2 separate regions of the Homo sapiens genome follow, and region 1 is linked to region 2. Evidence: promoter capture Hi-C in 16 types of primary human blood cells and fetal thymus (Javierre and others, 2016). All regions are on one chromosome and are shown on one strand. Each heading gives the region's core, a stretch centred on a gene start or on the middle of the fragment in contact. The rest is flanking DNA. Distances are from core to core; before and after follow the strand shown. Region 1 holds the start of BRF2 (BRF2 general transcription factor IIIB subunit). Region 2 holds the start of TM2D2 (TM2 domain containing 2).

Region 1 (6,408 bases), core at 609-3,108, 1.1 Mb before region 2:
GCTGTGGTGCGATCTCGGCTCACTGCAAGCTCCGCCTCCCGGGTTCACGCCATTCTCCTGCCTCAGCCTCCCGAGTAGCTGGGACTACAGGCACCCACCATCACGCCCGGCTAATTTTTTTGTATTTTTAGTAGAGATGGGGTTTCATCGTGTTAACCAGGATGGTCTCAATCTCCTGACCTCGTGATCCGCCCGCCTCGGCCTCCCAAAGTGCTGGGATTACAGGCATGAGCCACCGCGCCCGGCTCATTATTATTTTTTTGAGATGGAGTCTCACTCTGTCACCCAGGCTGGAGTGCAGTGGCGCGATCTCAGCTCACTGCAACCTCCACCTCCCAGGTTCAAGCGATTCTCCTGCCTCAGCCTGCCAAGTAGCTGGGACTACAGGTACATGCCACCATGCCCAGCTAATTTTTGTATTTTTAGTAGAGACGGGGTTTCGCTATGTTTGCCAGGCTGGTCTTGAACTCCTGACCTCAGGTGATCCACCTGCCTAGGCCTCCCAAAGTGCTGGGATTACAGGCGTGAGCCACAGCACCTGGCCTAGGATAGTTTTCTTTAAAGCCACTGTGTTGTAAAAGGTCAATTCTCACCTCGTTGCTGGCTGCGACTAACTTGTTCGTTTTCCCCTGTGCTTCGGGAATATGTTACCTCTGTAAGATAATAAACAACAAATAGTGTGCTTAGCCTTTATTCATCAGACCCCTGCCCTCCCACCACACAAAACCAGGACGCAAAATTCAAATCATTGAGCATCTGCTGCTGCACAGTTAAAGGCCCCATCTGGTTTTCTATGTCTACAAGAGGTTCCGAATACACAGAGACTGGGAAAGGTTAGGACTGCATTAAAGCAGCTCCAAGTGTTCCAAATTTCCAGTCATCCTTCCAGTACATTCCATACAGGCAATTTTCCTAGCAGCAGATTTTGTTGTTGTTTGTTTAAGGAGTTTCCCTCTATAGTCCAGGCTGGAGCACAGTGGTGCGATCACAGCTCACGGCAGCCTTCAACTTCCAGGCTCAAGCAATCCTCCTACCTCAGATTCCTGGGTAGCTGGGATTACAGGTGTATGCCACCATACCTGGCTAATTAAAAAAAAATTTTTTTAGGCACTTGTCTCGTTACGTTACCAAGGCTGGTCTCGAGATCCTGGGCTCAAGCAATCCTCTCGGCTCTGCCTCCCAAAGCACTGGGATTACAGGCGTAAGCCACCCCACCCAGACAATGGCTGCAGATTTTGAGGGCTGCACTGGTCAGAAACTTGGAAAGCAAAGAAAAGTGATGTTTTGCCAGTTTGTGCTTAAAACTATTTCAGGGTAATAATACCTGCTATAATCGTATCGGCAATCCTTCCACAATGACCAGACATGGCAAGATGAGTGGAACTTTTGTTTCTGTCTCACTTATTCAATATTTATTACACGCACCATCTATGCCCGATACTAAGTGCTGGGAAAACACAGATGAATGGCAGCCCCCATCTCCTTCAGCTCCCTCGCTCACTTTAGGTCATTTTCTCTCAAATTAAGTGTGTGCGTTACAGTTAGGAGTATGGGGGGAGCGGGGAGGCAAAAGGAATCTGATGTTAATCCCTCCACCGCCCCAGGCTGTCCCCAGGGCCACAAGTACCTCGGAGATTGCCCTCGTCGCTGAAGGTAGTGGTAAGGACCCCCTCGGTGACCACGCAGCCGCAGTCGGAGCACACCAGCTGGCTCTGCGAATAGTGCGAGTCTTCCACCAGCTCCGTGGAGCCGCAGTCCGGGCAGCGGCCTCTGCCTGGCATCTCACAACCGGCCCCAAAGCCGCGGAAGCCTTCAGAGACTCCTGGGTCTGCAACAGCAACCGTGAGGCAGCAAGAAGTAGGAGGGGACACTTCAAAGGGTTGCACCCCCGTCTTCCGGCCAGCGCGACGGAGGCATAGGCGGTTCCCTCCGCTGGGAGGCTGCGCGCCACTTCCGGTCTGTGCCTCCGCGGGCTCGGGTAGAAACGTGAGCTAGGAGAGGAGGTTCCTGGGCTGAACTGTAGCTGTCTGGTTTCCCTGCACTCTGTAGTTAGTTTTTGGGACCTAGACTGGGGTTGAATTTGGGAAAGTTTTTGCCTACATGGACACGTATAACAGACAGAAGATTGTTGTCACCCCTGAACAACCCTCCTTTTAAAGTCCTAAGGGAATCGCAGGTTGGTAATGAATGTTTAATTGGCCATAGAAGAAAGTATATTTTTTAAAGGGAGAGTAGTGGAGAGAGAGCGGGAGCAGGAAACTGTGTTCTGCTTTCCAGAGCTGCTTCCTAAAGCAGATTCCTTCCTCTCTTTACCTCCTGTTTTTCTCAACTGTAAAATGAGGAAGTTGAAAAAAAAATCCAGAGATGCAAACCCAAACGCTTTTGGAGGCCAGGCAGGAATGTCTAAAGGAGTTTGGAGTGAAAGAATATGGAGTGATGGAGACCTGGAGCGGCGCAAGCACGCAGATTCAGATGTTTTTTAAAAAACCTTGAGCTATCTGGGCGTGGTGGCTCACGCCTGTAATCCCAGCACTTTGGAAGGCCGAGGCAGGTGGATCACCTGAGCTCGGGAGTTTGAGACCAGCCTGGGCAACATGGTGAAATCCCGTCTCTACTAAAAATACACAAAAATTAGCTGGGCGTGGTGGTGCACGTCTCTAATCCCAGCTACTCAGGAGGCTGAGGCAGGAGAATCGCTTGAACCCAGGAGGCGCAGGAGGCGCAGTGAGCCAAGATCGCGCCACTGCACTCCAGCCTGGGTGGCAGAGCGAGACTCCATCTCAAACAAAATAAAACATACCTTTAAGAAGTGTCACTCCCTTCTTTTCCACACCCAGTTTTTACACGTGATATCCAAACCTAAAGACACCATCCCTTCCCTAAGAGACTGCTTTCTCAGAGTGTGAGAATCACTACTCCTTTTCAGAGACATCCCGTCCATTCCCATGGGGATCGCTCACATTGGAGGGCCAAGAGACACAATAATACCCAACGGTCCTTTCTCTTCAATTTGAATTACTTTAGTATCATAACAGAAGGGGGCTTCAGCACATTAATCGTGGGTGGGATCCGGCAGTCCAAGCCCCCCCGCCTTTTCTAGACCTCCCCACTAGCGTGAGATACAGGATGAGAGCTTATTTCTGGCTGTCTGACAGTTAAATATTAAGATACATTTGCACATGCGCACCCGCACACACACACCACTCAGAGACATCCATTAGTTTTAGTGTGGTTGACATTCTTATTTGGATGAAGAAAGTGTCCCTGAAAGCGACATAACTTGCACTGGGAACAGTTCCTTGCATGATCACACAGCAGAGCATCAGACTCCCCTCATCCCCAGTTGTGTGCAGATCTTGAACCTACCTTCACTTTTTTTTTAAGCGGGACTTTACAGAGCCCATCTACCTAGGACAGAAGCCTTGAAATCCTGCCTGACCCAACCTGATTGATTGTAAAGTGGAAAAGCAGTTTTATGATCCTGCAGCCAGCCACGGAAGGAGAAAGCTGGTTGTCTTTCCCAGTCACACATGATGTACTTACTGGGAGCCTAGGAGAGCCTGGTCCTCGGGCACACACAGGCTGGGAGGGGGCAGGGTCCAGGCCAGAAGATGGCGCCCTCTACTAAGATGTGTAAGTTTGGGGTTCTCCACTTTCTCAGGAAGAAGTCCATTTATTTGGGAAATGTATTTGCCTTGCTCCAGGAAATCTGGACAGACGTGGAAATCATCTTGGTGCCCTCTCCACTGCTCCCAGTTCTTCTAAGAGTTATCATTCCTGGTAGTGATTATCTTATTTTTTAATTTTATTTATTTATTTATTTTGAGAGGAGTCTCACTCTGTCGCCCAGGCTGAAGTGCAGTGGCACAGTCTCAGCTCACTGCAGCCTCCACTTCCCGGGTTCAAGCAATTCTTCTGCCTCAGCCTCCCAAGTAGCTAGGACCACACGCGCCCACCACCATGCCTGGCTAGTTTTTGTATTTTTAGTAGAGATGGGATTTCACCGTGTTGGCCAGGCTGGTCTCAAACTTCTGACCTCAGGTGATCTGCCCACCTCGGCCTCCCAAAGTGCTGGGATTACAGGCATGAGCCACCATGCCTGGCAGTGATTATCTTTTTAACAGATGCCCCGAGTGCCCAGGGTGGGCTTGGCCAGAGCAGAAAGCTAGTCATGGGGAGGCCATTGAACAGCAGCCCAGCTGTGGTCCAGATGTATAATGCTGACATTGAGGCCAGAGTTCTTTGTAGAGGGGAGAGTAGAGGAAGGCACTGAGGAAGAGGAGGATCTGGCACCTGAATGCAGTCCTCTTCCTCCCTCGATTGGCTGTGTACATTCTAGTTCGTTGTTTGACTTTCTCTTTGAATGGAAGTCTCTATGGGAACAAGCTGGCTTTCTCATCCTTGTGTCCCCAGGAGTACCTCCTAAAGTGAGGGCTGGCATTCAGTAAAGAGGAGTTCAACTCCCGTGAATTCCTGTCCTAGGTGGGCCTATCCAAAGCACCAAATGGGCCAGGCACGTGGCTCATGACTGTAACCCTAACACTTTGGGAGTCTGATGTGGGAAGACAGCTTGAGGCCAGGAGTTCGAGACTGTCCTGGGCAACATAGTGAGACCGCAGCCCCTCTCAAAACAAATAGCAGGGTATAGTGGTGTGCACTTGTAGTCCCAGCTACTTGGGAGGCTAAGGCAGGAGGATCACCTGAGCCCAGGAGTTAAAAGGTTGCCATGAGCTATGATTGCACCACTGCACTCCAGCCTGGGTAACAGAGTGAGACCCTGACTCAAAAAAAAAAAAAGGATGAAGAAGAAGGAGCACCACATAGACCCAGTTCCTCTGAAGCAGACCCATTTCCATCTAGAGCAAGTGACTGCTGAGAGTGGGCTGCTCTCCAGGCCTGCCTTCCAGCCTCAGCCCTGGGCTCCTCTCAGCTTAGCTGATGATGCTTTGCGACCCCGACCCAGTTTCACCGAGCCCTGAGTACAGCTCGCACGGTGGCACTGGGCCTGGCAGTTGCCTCAGATTTGGAGCCTTTCTGACTGGACTTCCTTCCCACCACTCTTTAGTGGGCACTTCCCGATGAGATAGCCTCAGGGCAGAGCATGGCCAGGGCTTCCCAAATCCCCGTGCCAAGCACCTTTCCTCACTCATATGCAGCTTCCCCTCTGCATAGTTTAGTCTGCCCCTCCCAGCCATTTCTCTCTGGGCTAAAGATTCACACGTTCAATTTCTTGAACTCCTAGGAACAAAGGCATCTGGTAACTCCAGGAAGGTGGTCACAGCACAGACCTGGTGCACTGCGTAGTCCAGGGCAACCTGACCTGGAACGCCTCTCTGCTGGGAGGCTGAGGCTCATCTGGCCTTATGGAAAGTCCTGAGAGAGGATTGAGTCATATGGCCTCCATTTTCCTTGCCCGCCCCAATCCTCCGCAATTCCAAGTAAATGATATAATGTTATATTCCTGCCCCTCAAAGCGATCCTAGCCTAGGGGTTGGCAAACTTATTCTTTTCTATTTTTTAAAAATATTTTTAATTAAAAAAATTTTTTTTTGTAGAAACAGGATCTCACTATGTTTCCCAGGCTGGTCTCAGACTCCTGGGCTCAGGCGATCCTCCTGCCTCCGCCTCCCAAAATGCTGGGTTTACAGGCATGGGCCACCACACCCAGCCATCAGACTTACCCGGCCATCATACCTTTTCTATAAAAGGCCAAATAGTAAATATTTTGGGTTTTTGGGACAATAGCTACTCTGTTGCAATTACTCAACTCAGCTGTTGTAATGTGAAAACAGCCATAGACAGTTACGTAAACAAACAAACGGTCATGGCTGTATCCAATAAAGCTTCATCTATGGGTGCTGAAATTCAATTTCATATGATTTTTTGTTTTGTTTTAAAACCAAAGTTTATTCCGGCCAACTTATCGTACTGGTATGATAACAGCTCATAGATCAGAAATGGTCTGTTTTAAACCTTCCTATCCATATTGAACACAATGATGTTGAGGTAAAAGGGGCCCTTTCTTCTTCTTCTTCTTCTTTTTTTTTTTTTTTTTTTTTGAGACAGGGTCTTGCTCTATTGCCCAGGTTGGAGTGCAGTGGTACCATCTCGGCTCACTGCAACCTCCATCTCCTGGGTTCGAGCAATTCTCATGCCTCAGCCTCTTGAGTAGCTGGGATTACAGGTGTGTGCCGCCACACCCAGCTAATTTTTGTATTTTTAGTGGAGACAGGGTTTCACCATCTTGGCCAGGCTGGTCTCGAACTTCTGACTTCAGGTGATCCACCCACCTCGGTCTCCCAAAGTGCTGGGCTTATAGGCATGAGCCACTGCACCCAGCTGAGAGACCCTTTCTCTAAATGAAAATACAATACTTATCCTATGTACTTCTGGAGGGTCCAGAGATGT
Region 2 (6,909 bases), core at 508-3,007:
TAATAAACCTTAATAGCGTTTTTCCATTCCAAGAAGCCACTGTTAACCAATGGCTTCCGCTGGAACGCTTTAATGTCCTACAAAGACATATACCGGTAGACTCTATCTGTCTCCTACGGACATGGTGGAACCTGTTTGCCTGGAGAAAAGAAATGTCATTGGCAAGAAAAGCTCTGCCCCAAATGCATGTGTAACAAAGATACTGCCCAATCCATCACCAGTGTTGCAAAGTGCACAGACTTCCTTTTGCTCTTTCAGGAAAGGTTCATGCCTTGAAGGAGAGTCAGGGGTGACATTTTAGTTTCAAAATCTGTCAGTGGCCAAAGGAACCAAAGACAGGTTGGTCTTTGCACCTGGGTGGTTTTAGCACAGAGATTGCTCCTTCATAAGGAAACCAAATATCTTGTTCAGTCACTGACCCTGGCCATACTGGAAATTTCCAGTAACGGTCTTTCTGAGGAAATTCTTCAAAAAACTTTGTACCTCTTATACTTTTATGTAATAGCATTCAGACATTCCTATTTCGTTATCGAAGGGTTTGCTCTTACGACAAAACAAAAACTCACCTTGAGACAACCATAACCAAGTTCCTGGGATGCAGTTGCATTTCCAACATGATCCACTGGGTCTTCACATTCTATAAATTCATCAGGTCTGTAATTCACCAGTAAGATCATGATCATCATCATACGGTCTTTGCAAATCGCTGTTTGCATGCACGTAATCAAAACGGGCAAAAGACATTTCTTCATCAAGTTTTCTGGGGTTCGGTTTCACCCTGCTGACCCCTTTCCAAGCCAATTAAACTGAAGCACAGCAGGTCAAACGGACAGCCACCAAAATGAACCTTTTGTTGGAGAAGGGAGGTGTTTCTGGTCCTGTTTCTATAAGGATTCTACTTCTGCCATGGTTTCATCTCTTCAGTAGGCAAACAACAAGATTCTGGGGGCAAAATTTAAGCCAAAGTATTCTCAGTCCTCTTTGCATTTCCCAAATGCCTTTTCTTGTTTGATCAAAAAGAGATGTTAAAAAATGGCGTGATTCTGCAACGGTAAGAATATTGATTGCTTTTTTAAAAGATGCCTTGTAGGCAGAGACAAGTCATTTACTCCATTTATGCCTTACTCAGTACTGGCACCGAATCGACCGACTAATACTCTCCTTGGGCTAAAGGGCGCAGGGCAAAGAAAGCACAACCTTACGCCCTTCTTCCAGAGGCTATATGATGTTACTCCTACCCAGTTTTCCTCTTTGGGGATCTCAAAGCCTCTGTCACTGACACACAAGAGTTTTCTCTGCACGGGCTGTGAGAAACCTGGTTCATGATATTTGCCTCCGGAACGACCTCAGAGAGGCAGGGTCTGAAAAAATGCAGCGTCCCCCCAACCCTGCCTTCCCTTAACACCCATATATTCCTGGCACACCCTCCACGTCCACCCGCCTCGACCACTGGTAGCTTACAGGTAAGAGCAGAGGATGACCGGAGAGTGGGGGTCGCCATATTCCCAGCTCGCAGCACCCCCGGGGCCCTCCGGCTGGGCGGCGCCAGCGGATGTGAGCTCAGGCTCAGCGGTCGCATTTTGCGAGTGGCTCCGAGACACACAATGCAGCAGAAGTAAATTCCCCAGCAGCAAAGCCGCCTGGCCGCACAGAAGTAAGTAACTAACCGGGCAACCACCTAGCACCATCTTCCCGGGCACAGGAGCGGAGACCCGGCCTCAACCACAACCCCAGGCCAGCAGCACAGACCCAAGAACTGCGTGGTCAGGCCTTTCCGCGTAGCCCCGCCCGCGTAGCCCCGCCAAACAGCCAATGGACGCGCAGCTCGACGCTCCGCGCACCTCCGCCAACCAACTAGAAAAGGTCGAGCAGACGGGCGGGGCTACTCCGCCCTCTGCTTCTGCTTCTCGATTCCTCTTCTGGGTCTCATGCTCCTCCTTCTTTTGCGCCGAATGCGTTCTCCAATCGGATCCGTCGACCCCCCTAGGTGGGCGTGCCCGGCAGCCGACGGGGCGGGGCGGATATGACTGGCGGGCCGACTAGTGCTGGTTGCCACCGCCGGTTTAGAAATCCTATTCTCGCGCCGGGGACTGGATTTTTCCCTACGTCAGCGCAGCTAGGCGATGTCGGGAGCGAGCTCGGACCGAGGGCTCAGTTGCGTCAGTGCCGCGCGCGTGCTCGTCGGGCGCGCGTGCTCGTCGGGCGCGCGCGCTTCCCGGCCAGACTTGGGGCCCCGGCAGGGTTGGAAAATGATGGAAGAGGCGGAGGTGGAGGCGACCGAGTGCTGAGAGGAACCTGCGGAATCGGCCGAGATGGGGTCTGGCGCGCGCTTTCCCTCGGGGACCCTTCGTGTCCGGTGGTTGCTGTTGCTTGGCCTGGTGGGCCCAGTCCTCGGTGCGGCGCGGCCAGGTGGGTGTCCGCGCCCCGGGTCGGTTGGGACGGCTGCTTCCTAGGGACGGGGCGCTCGGAGTGAACCTGTGGTGCCTGGGAGTGGAGGGGCCCGGCCTGGGGATCGGACCCGGGGTCGGGGGGCGCGGCCGCTCCAGGTGTGTGCGGACCGGGGTCGCACCCGAGGCGCGGGGTTTGGCGCCCCAAGCCCTTCTTGGCCCGGGTCCTCTGCCCGGCACCGCTTCCTCCGTGTCCTGTTCGATGGAGCCGTTCCCAGCGTCCCCCCATCCCTCGCCGCCTCGCGCGACCCCGGGTCCCCCAGACGCCCCGAAACCCGCTCTGGGGCGGGCGCTGACCTCGGCGGGCCGGAGCCCTGCAGGCTGGGCGCGCCCGCGGGCGTTCAGTCCTCCAAACGCCTGCAGGGAGGGAGCTGGCTCTCGCTCGTGGAGTTAATGTCGCTTGGAAAGAGACTGAGAGATGAAACTTTTGCTGCAGGTTATAATTTGAAATTTTGACGTTCATGGTATCCTTGGGTCAACACAGCTAAATTTAATGGTGGAATAAAGGTGGGTGGGAGGACGCTCATTTCTCTTGGGTCATTTTTGTAGTAAGAATATTTTGTAAACGATGTGCTACCTTTCTATAGCCAAACCATTCTTAAAAAATCTGTGTTTTTATTGGGTTCGTACTGTGTTAAATCCGGACAGATAATCCCTGCTCTTTTGAACTCACAGGATTATTGTAGGAATTAAATCATTTGTGTGAAATCGTTTTTGAATTGTGAAACTGCCCTTGACTATGTAAGATACTTGTATTGGAGATGCCCAAACATAGTGGAAGCAGATTGTCAGCACGCTGGCGTCTTTCTGGAAACAAGTTGTTTATTTTGGATTTTGTATGATATAATTGTTTGCATGGCTGTATTTTCTCTATCAGCGACAGAGGATGATGGAGAATGGGAGTTTTTACTAAATCATTGATTGAAAGTTATTCAAAGGTGATGATAGAAGATTTCAACGCAGGACTGTTGACCTTCAGGAAACTAATTACTTGTTTTTCTTATCTTTGGCTGCTTTATTTGAAATTAAGTAAATTTGCCCCAGTGTGGAAATGTTGAAACTCTGACAATGTTTTGAATGGGAAGTTGCCAAATTTCTTCTGGTTAAAACTACTTTTCCGGTGGTATTCTAGATGGTTAACACTCACCGATGTTTAAGGTGAAGACGATTATACATCCGGAGTTTTATTAATCTGTGATTTTTTTTTGTGTTTGTAAATGTAAATAAGACTGTATTTTTAAATGTTAATATAAATTGTCAGTCATTACCGACCTGCATTAGGTGAGTGGAATATCCTGATGGTCTTTAACTGTGGTTTTGGCCAGCTCCTCACTTCGGCATGTGTATGCCCCTTCAAAGTTTAGCCACCGTTTATGGAACTCCTATAAACACCACACAGTTGATTGTAGAGGGGCAGAAGGTGACCAAATATGCTAAGCGCATCTGAGAGATGTTGGGGAAGATTTTTAGAGAAAATAATATTTGAACTGGGCTACATCGGTGATTTTTCAAGTAGAATAGTAGATACATTCTAAGCAGAGGAAAGTTTTTGCAAGAGTATGGTGGGGCGGGGGGCGTATGAAAGAACATGACTTTTTAGGAAATGATAAAAATGTCAATATGTCTTCATGCAGACTATAAAAGGGAGGGATGGAAGATCAAACTAAGGTAGGTTGTTACCAGTTGGGAAGAGTCTTCTATGCTGAACTAAGGGGTTTGGACTTCACCCCGTAGGAAGTTCTTTGGGCAGTGGAGGTTTTAAGTAGGGGTGCGACCTAATCTCATTTTCTGTTAAGAAAACGGGCAACACGGTGGAGGATAGAATCTAGGAGGGAGAGACTAGAGGCTGGGACACCGGTTAAGAGGCTTTTGTAATAGTGTGCAGTGAGTCAACTCTTGTTTCTCTCGGGGAACGTTCATACAAAATCAGCTGACCACATTTTTGCAGTATAAGGTGTTTAAAACGTGCACTGAAACATTTTCCAGGATCGAAAGAGGAATTTGAGGTACCAGGCACACGTCAGTTACATTAGGAGTTAATTAGGTTTTATAGGATTTTTACTACCTTTTATAACATTGTCTCAATGAGGAAATGCAGTATAATTTCCAAACAGCTAACTTTCAGTAAACTTTTTTTTTTTTTTTAAACTGACAAAGGTAACTGTGTCATTGTAAAAAATAAGCGGAATCAGGTATGAAACCTCTTCTGATTTTCTAAGGTAGTAATTATGAGGAACAGATTTAGAATTTTTTTTTAAACAAAGACTGGCATTCTAAAGAAAATGACTTTGAAAGCTTACTCATGGTGAGTCACTGTAAAATCATTTGTGTAGTAAGAACTTAGGTCCATACTAATCTCGTTTTCAGATGCCAGCAAAATATTTGAATTTGATATGTTTGTGTTTGTGCCGATAGGAGAATGTAGCCTTTTACATTTAAGAATGATTTGGTTTTCAACCTTTTAAGTAAAAAAGAAAGCATATATAATTAAAATATGTACAAACCTAGTTCCTGGTTTCCAAGACAGTTTTCAAAAAGCACTTGAAGCTTTAACTTACCAAATTTATATTTGCTCTTTGTAAAAAATCTGGGTTTATAATAGAATTTATTATGGAATCCCCCAAAAGATGCAAGCTCTAAGTAACTGGAAGCTTTTTCTTGGGAATATCCGCAAGCTCAAACATATGACATAGCCTCATATTTCTTTTTCCTTTTTGGTATGTAACATATACTGGAGGCTTGGAGTCATGCCATCCTTTTGAGTCAGCGCTATGGAACTGCCTCATAAATGAATGCAGTCCTTTTGTATCTCAGTAGCTAATCCCTCACAGTCTTTTTTTTTTTGAGATGGAGTCTTGCTGTGTCGCCCAGGCTGGAGTGCAGTGGCACGATCTCGGCCCACTGCAACCTTCACCTCCCGAGTTCAAGCAATTCTCCTGCCTCAGCCTTATGCCTGGCTAGTTTTTTGTATTTTTAGTAGAGATGGAGTTTCACGGTATTAGCCAGGATGGTCTCGACCTCCTGACCTCGTGATCCGCCCACCTCAGCCTCCCAAAGCGCTGAGACTACAGGCATGAGCCACCGCGCCCCAGCCTCTCTCACAGTCTTTGAATGGGTCTAATGTGGACCCAACTAAAGTTGGGTAGCACAATGTTGTTTGTATATTGAGAGATTATTGTAGTTTATTTTCCATTTCATGTTGTTATTTTAATCAGATTATTTTCCCTAAGTGATCATATGTGGGACACTGCTTGAGTCACATCTTTTTTTTTTCTTTCTGAGAGACAGGGTCTTGCTCTGTTGCCCAGGCTGGAGTGCAGTGGAACAGTCATAGATCACTGTAACCTCGAATTCCTGGGCTGAAGCAATCCTCCTGCCTAAGCCTCCTGAGTAGCTGGGACTGCAGGGGTGTGTCACCATGCTTGGCTAATTAAAAACTTTTTTTGTGTGTGGAGAGGCAATCTTGCTCTGTTGCCCAGGCTGGTCTCGAACTCCTGGGCTCAAGTGTTCCTCCTGCATCAGCCTCCCAAAGTGCTGGGATTACAGGTGTGAACCACCACACCTGGCCTTAAATCACATCTTTTAAGAGTGAGCTAGGGAACCTTAGAAATTAACTTGGTCCGTTTTAAAATATGCAGTTCTGTTTGTATTTATTTATGTTTATGGTAATGTAAGTATTGTGTTACTAAACCTTACTGGAAGAAAAGAAAATGATATCACCCCCAGACATGTTATAATGTAGGGCAGAACTCAAAGGGAATGGGACGTTCCCTTTGATGAATTGTTCTTTTAATGAGATTTTTCATGATTTAAGTCATTTTAGGATGATTTTAACGTCTTCCTTCTAGTAGTGTAGAATCTTCATATGAGTAGACCCCAGGAGAGCCTGATTCTAATCAGTCTTATTGAAAGGCTGAGAATCCTGTTGTGAAGATATCTTGGGCCTAACCTCCCATCCCAGCCACTTAAGAGAAGTGATTAAGCAGTCTGTGGATAGCAATACAATGAAATACGATTTTGCTATCAAAATGACAAATGTGTAGGCTATGTAGATTTGTAGAAAAGTTGATACAAAAGATGTTAATCATAAAAAGTAAGGTTCACTTTAAGTCATATGTGATAATTACAACTATCAGAACTATGTTTGTTTAGCTGTAACCATCAGAAGAGGTTATTTATTCAACACATATTTTATTGAATACGTACTGTACCAGTGCAGGAAGTACATGATGAATAAGATACCGTCCTTGATCTCAAAGAACTTAAATTCTTTGCTGGAGGAACTTAAATTGTCTAGGGCATTAAATCTTAGAAATGGGTGGTGTTTTTCCCAAAGGGACACTTAAACAAACAACAGAAGCCATTTCTTTTTAAATGTAAAGATGGGTAAATATTTAAGAAAAGTGTAACACTAAAAAAAGTAAGAGTGTAGACCTAGCAGTAGAAATTATAATTAAGTATG

Evidence for each region. Contacts are between HindIII fragments. The CHiCAGO score rates a contact against its expected background, and 5 or more counts as called.
Region 1: a contact is called between the fragment with the promoter of BRF2 here and the fragment with the promoter of TM2D2 in region 2, in 2 of 17 cell types (neutrophils and non-activated CD4 T cells). The highest score is 6.4, in neutrophils.

Annotation. Positions count from the first base shown.
Region 1 is chr8:37,848,003-37,854,410 of GRCh38, forward strand. It overlaps BRF2 (BRF2 general transcription factor IIIB subunit), which reads right to left and starts at 1,859. Exons shown (of 4, transcript NM_018310.4): 1 at 1,628-1,859; 2 at 594-653. The coding sequence starts at 1,781. RefSeq lists enhancers at 1,535-1,674, 1,715-2,064. The HindIII fragment of the contact is 8,285 bases long and covers 1-5,841 here.
Region 2 is chr8:38,994,752-39,001,660 of GRCh38, forward strand. It overlaps TM2D2 (TM2 domain containing 2), which reads right to left and starts at 1,758. Exons shown (of 4, transcript NM_078473.3): 1 at 1,462-1,758; 2 at 567-654. The coding sequence starts at 1,688. ADAM9 (ADAM metallopeptidase domain 9) reads left to right here and starts at 2,222. Exons shown (of 22, transcript NM_003816.3): 1 at 2,222-2,409. The coding sequence starts at 2,313. RefSeq lists enhancers at 886-1,408, 1,409-1,930, 1,539-1,728, 1,889-1,988, 2,049-2,098 and 1 more and a silencer at 2,429-2,858. The HindIII fragment of the contact is 5,467 bases long and covers 1-4,740 here.